Regions from separate parts of the Homo sapiens genome. Here region 2 is linked to region 1. The links are contacts of gene promoters, found by promoter capture Hi-C in human tissues and cell types (Jung and others, 2019). All regions are on one chromosome and are shown on one strand. Each heading gives the region's core, a stretch centred on a gene start or on the middle of the fragment in contact. The rest is flanking DNA. Distances are from core to core; before and after follow the strand shown. Region 1 holds the start of SLC6A5 (solute carrier family 6 member 5). Region 2 overlaps ANO5 (anoctamin 5).

Region 1 (3,086 bases), core at 432-2,931:
CTTTCTGAGCCCCAATTTCCTCAGCTTTGCAATTGGTATAGTTTCTGAAAGGCCATTGCTAAATCTAACCGAGATAATTCATGGATATCCCTTGCACAATGGTTGAGTATTGAGATCTCAATAGACGTTAGCTCAAAACTGCAATAAAAAGCGACCTGAAATCCTCAAGGCGTCTCAAAAGAAAGATCTCCTCCTCCTGCCCCCACCAAAGGCAATGCAGACCGTGTGTCCCCAGCCAGCTGCCCTTTAGAGGGGCTAGGCGGGAAAGCCAACCAGCGGAGGCATCCAAACACTCTCGGGCTCTCCAGAGGAGCAGGAGGGTGCCCCTTAGTGCCCCCGGCGCCCGCCGCAATCTGCCACTGCAGCCTACGCCTGCGGCCGCGGCCGCCGCGGCATTGTCCTCCCGCCGCGTGGGACGGCCCAGCCGCTGGCGACGGCGCGCACCCCGAGGCAGTGGGCTGGGCTGTTGGCAGTAGGGAAGGGAAAACGTGCTGTCTGTGGCTCCTCATCCCCGAGGCCAGGGGTTCCCCGAGCTAGACCGGCAAGGAAGGAGAGAAGGGAAGCATTTTGCTGATAATCCCCTTCTAGTCTCCAAACTACACCTTCTTTGTAAAGGCGTTTTTTCCTCTTCTGATTATAGCTATTGCATTGTACACACAACAAGAAAGTCCATCTTTTTATCGCCATGGCCACCCCCACTCCCATCCCCGCCACAGTACGGTTGAACATCCTGGCATGGCTTTGCAGATTGCCAGCTCTCATTCCCCCTCCCCCGCATTGCTGGGCATCCCGATTTGGACGGTCTCTAAGGTCCCGCGCTGCCAAATCAGGCCTGGCTCTTGTAGGATTTTATTGAAAGGACTGTAAAGAAAGAATGGGTTTCCCTTGACTTTGAAAGTGACCTAAGAACTAGGTCTGTGTTGGAAAAACTTCGTTTTTCTTTCTCTAAAACGTCTTCAGAAAAGCTTAAAAATACAATGAAAAAGGTCAGTTATACTCAGAATTTTCTCTTGATTGTGATAACAGAAATAGGAACGGAAATACCAGATCACAATTTTTAAGCAAAAACCCCAGGATTCCTCCAAGACTGACTGTCTGGAAGGGTAGGGATGTGAGAATCTGAAGTCCACATACATGCTAGGTAGGTACACCTTGATAAATGCAGGACCCATGCCTGCTTCAGTCATCGCAGAGCTGTGGGGCTATGCGCAGACCCTCAACCTCTTTCGGAGTAATATTTTCGGAATCCCTGAAGATAAGGGGGGACAGCAATGGAATCTAGTGAAAGGGAAAGAATAGACAGTGATTTAACCCCCTCCTTCCTCCTCTACAGCCCGATCCACTCTGTTGGCGGCTGCGCCTTGCCTTGGGTGCAGTGGGACGTGTCCCTCCCATGTTTCCCTTAATTAGGAGGAGGCAAACTTCTGTCTTCCCCTCCTGCCGGTTTCGGTTTAGTAATCAGACCACATGAGTCACGCCAAACACGCAGCCCCCTCCCGCTGGAGTGACAACTGGCCAGCATACTCTAGGCTGTTGTCCCTTTAAAACTTGAATCCAAGGGGGTAATGATTTATCAAACTTGTATTATCAAGAAAATGTCAAACCAAGGGCACCTTGCTTTGCACTGACGCAAACCCGGCCTTTCCCAAGGAGATATAGAAAGCGCCTCTCCTGCCTGAGCCAAACCCAGTCTTGTCAATAGCGGGTTTCACCCTCCACCAGTTCAGTCTGTTGCCTGTGTCAGACATGGTGAGTGTTTGCTTTTGTTCTTTCAAGAGGAAAGGGGGCTGAGGGGACAGGGAAAGCAGATTCGTTTTGGCTATTTCTTTTGGAGATGTCTGTGCATTGGGTGGGGGGAAAGGGGGCGACGAGGAGAACAATTCTCGCAGCCCTAGGTATTTGTACTTGTGAGCGTCACCTGAGGTCGCAAAGAGGTTTCCTAGGCTGTAGAGCTGAGAGGTTGGCTGTGGCTCCTAAAGACCCGATCCCGGGCACTGTCCTCGGTGCTGAAAAGCCAGATGCCGGTACAGAGGCGAGTTGCTCTGGGTCCTAGAGGCTACTGAGACAAATGCTGGCTGAAGCCGAGGTACCTAGATTTGTGCAAATCGAGGAGTTCTATTCTGCGTGTTTGTGAAAGGGGGTTAGACGAGAGGAGTGCGGTGGAGGCGAAGATAATAGGATTATTCTTACAGTGTAATAATAATTATTGGTGCTAATGTTTAGGAAGCCGTGAAAGATAACACGAGGGGAGAAAGTGGATAGAAAAACCACCGCTGGCAGTTCTTTTCATTTGAAAGTGAATTGGGAAAAAGCGAATAAAAATTAGTCATGAGTTTTGGTACTCAAGCAAGCTTAGAGTTGTGAAGGATATTAGACTCCTGTGAATAGTTACGCAAAAAAGAAGAAGAGGAAGAAGAAGAAGAAGAAGAAGAAGAAGAAGAAGAAGAAGAAGAAGAAGAAGAAGAAGAAGAAGAAGAAGAAGAAGACCTAAACAAAAGAACAAAAAGCTTTGCATATTCTTTTCCATGTCTGGGAATCTGGAAGTGAATACGAGTTGTGTAAGATAACAAATCTAGTTACTACTCTGTGTCTTAAATTTAGTTTATTATCGTTGTAGGTTTTTTTGTGGTTATTTTGATCGTGATTCTTAACCTTGTCTTTGCTACCTGGCGGGAGGAGGTGGGTTGTGGAGCGCTGGGACTCAACCAATTTGGCCTCAAGCGCTCGCAGGTGCCAGGGCATCAGCTTTGTGGCCACAGCTTGTCTATGGGGGAAAAAGGCAGTGTGCATTGTTGAATGACAAAGGAAATGGGGCGGAAAATTAAAGAATCTTTCTACAGTGGTGATGGGGATGCGGGCACCCACAGCTGTGATGTGGAATCCAAAGAGGGAGGGGAGCTCATGACTCCAGGGCTATTTCCATTCCCCCTTTACCCTTACAAAATTACATTTCTACCTCTTTTCTTAGTTCATCCTCCACTAGGGAGGGAATATTAGCTTCTTTTTGTCATCTGGTTATTGATGAAACGGGCAAATTGAGAAATACTGATTGCAGCCTTTCTTTTAAAAAAAGTTCAGATTCCAAT
Region 2 (2,968 bases), core at 391-2,890, 1.6 Mb after region 1:
TATGAAAATAGATATAACAATATTACTACTTTTTAGCACATTAGTTATAATATCTATACTATCTGTAAAACGGGAATAGCAATATTACTACTTTTTAGCATAGGGGCTAACACTTAGTGTTTAATACATATTAGTTTTTGTTTCTCTTGGAGTCCAGAAATTTGGAACATAAGACAAAGGTTGTGTATGGATGTTTGTGTGTGTGTGCTCTCAGTGAGCTGTGAAGACATTTGTTCTATGACCTCAATCCTTTAGATAGTTTCATTAGCTAAGCAAGAAGACTATGGTTGCAGGTTATCACTTTAAAGCATAGCAATACTACAAGCATACAAGATATTAGGAGACATATGATTTTATTCAATGAACTATTAGATTAGAGATCTCTTGCTACTATAGGCAGTGTTTTTTCCTTGATGATTTATACTTGCATTGCTATGCTTACACAGCATCACAGTATCTGTTTCATGAGACTGATTTGAATGGATCCATCCAAATCAACTGAAATGTTATCTCAACAGTATGTTTAAGTCAAACTAGAGGACACATTTTGGAAAATTAATGTCACTTAGTCAGTTTATAAACTGGGGCTTTTGATAAATCATGCAAACTCTTTCTTGAATGGCTATTTTAACTGTTTTGAATAATAATCATTTAATACTTTAAGTTATAAAACCAGAATATTTATCAAAAACATTTCAAATAATTAAGAGATGAACAAAGTTTTAAGTGAAATTCTACCTTCATCAAACTCCACAAAAATAACTAGGCTTGATTTGGATAATATTGATTTAGTCCTATTTTTGTGTTCCTGCATAAAAAAGCAGAAACATTTTTTTTTCTGAGAGCAATGGCATCTTTCTCTTCTCTTTCATGCTAATATTTTTCTTTATTCACTAAATAGTATATTACTGATGTCCTTCTATGAATACACAAAGATCTATCTGATACTATTTAGTGGAACACAGAATGCCTTATTATAAATTTTTCATAATTCATTTATTTGTTTTTCTATTGAAAAACATTAGGCTGTCCCAATTTTTTTATATAATTTCAACTTTTTAATTTTAGATTCAGTGGTATACATGCATGTTTTTTGTGTGGGTATATTGCACGATGCTGAGGTTTGGGGTGCAGATCCTGCCACCCAAGTAGTGAGCATAGTAACAAATAGGGAGTTTTTTAACCCACACCCCTCTCCCACACTACCTCCTCTAGTGTATATCGTAGTCATCCTTATGTCTATGTGTATTCAATATTTAGTTCCCACTTACAAGTGGTTTATATATACCACGTTTTATTTATCTGCTCCACCATTAATGGTCACCCAGGTTGATACCATGTCTTTGCTATTGTGAATAGTGCTGCAATGGACATATAGGTGCGTGCATCTTTTTGGTAGAACAATTTATATTGCTTTGAGCATATGCCCAGTAATGAGATTGTTGGGTCAAATGGCAGCTCTGTTTTAAGTTCTTTGCAGAAGCTCCAAACTGTTTTCCACAGCAGCTGAATTAATTTTCATTCCCATCAACGGTGTATAAATGTTCTCTTTTCTCCCAAATCTCACCACCATCTGATATTTCTTGACTTTTTAATCATAGCCATTCTGACTGGTATGAGATGTTATCTGATTGCGGTTTTGATTTGCATTTCTCTGGATTAGTGATGATGAGCATTTTTTCATATGTTTGTTGGCTGCTTGTATGTATTTTGAGAAGTGTCTCTTCATGTCCTTTGCCAATTATTTATTGGGGTTATTTGGATACTGCTTGTTGACTTGTTTGAGTTCCTCATAGATTCTGGATATTAGACCTTTGTTGGATGTGTAGTTTGTGAATGTTTTCCCCTATACTGTAGATTGTCTACTCTATTGATACTTTCTTTTGCTGTGCAGAAGCTCTTTAGTTTAATTAGGTCCCACTTGTCAATTATTTTTTGATGTTGCAATTGCTTTTGGTGACTTAGCCAAAAATTATTTACCCAGGCCGATGTAGAGAAAGATACTTCTTAGGTTTTCTTCTAGGATTTTTATAGTTTGAGGTCTTACATTTAAAACTTTATTCCATCTTTAGTTATTTTTCTATATGGTGAAAGATAAGGGTCCAAGTTTTATTCTTCTGTATATTGCTAGTCAGTTATCCCAGCACCATTTATTGAATACGGAATCCGTTCCCCATTGCTTGTTTTCATCAGCTTTGTTGAAGACCAGATGGTGGGAGGTGTGCAGCTTCATTTCTGCTTTCTCTGTTTAGTTCCATTGGTCTATGTGTCTTACCAGTACCATGCTGTTTTGCTTACCATAGCCTTATAGCATAGTTTGAAGCCAGGTAGTGTGATGCTTCCAGTTGTGTTCTTTGTTGTGTTCTTTTTGGTTAGGATTGCTTTGGCTATTTGGCCATTTTTATGGTTCTATGTTAATGTTAGAATAGCTTTTTCTAATTCTGTGAAAAATGTCATTGGTAGTGTGATAGGAATAACATTGAATTTGTAAATTGCTTTGGGCAGTATGGCCATTTTAATGATACTGATTCTTCCAATCCATGAACAAGGAATGTTGTTCCATTTATTTGTGTCATCTCTGATTTCTTTCATCAGTGTTTTGTAGTTTTCCTTGTAGAGATCTTTCACCTCCTGGATTAGCTGTATTCCTAGATATTTCATTTTTTGTGGCTATTGAAAATGGGATTGTGTTCTTGATTTGACTCTCAGCTTGAACATTATTGCCATATAGAAAGCTACTCACTTTTGTCCATTGCTTTTGGGTCCTGAAACTTTACTGAACTCTCTCATCTGTCATTTATGAAATCTAGGAGACTTTTGGTGGAGTCTTTAGGGTTTTCTAGGTGTAGAATCATTTGGCAACAAAGAGAGATAGCTTTACTTCTTCTTGTCCTATTTGGATGCCTTTTATTTTTTTTCTCTTGCCTGATTCCTCTGGCTAGGACTTAAGCACTATGTTGAATAGGAG

The links. Contacts are between HindIII fragments. The study calls those that stand out against the background at their distance.
Region 2: a contact is called between a fragment that was not itself captured here and the fragment with the promoter of SLC6A5 in region 1, in 1 of the 25 tissues and cell types used here (dorsolateral prefrontal cortex).

What each region holds. Positions count from the first base shown.
Region 1 is chr11:20,597,927-20,601,012 of GRCh38, forward strand. SLC6A5 (solute carrier family 6 member 5) reads left to right here and starts at 1,682. Exons shown (of 16, transcript NM_004211.5): 1 at 1,682-1,749. The coding sequence starts at 1,747. The HindIII fragment of the contact is 4,309 bases long and covers 1-3,086 here.
Region 2 is chr11:22,239,981-22,242,948 of GRCh38, forward strand. The region is part of intron 9 of ANO5 (anoctamin 5); the gene reads left to right. Among named protein-coding and RNA genes, the nearest start is that of ANO5, 48 kb to the left of the region's middle. The HindIII fragment of the contact is 4,063 bases long and covers 1-2,968 here.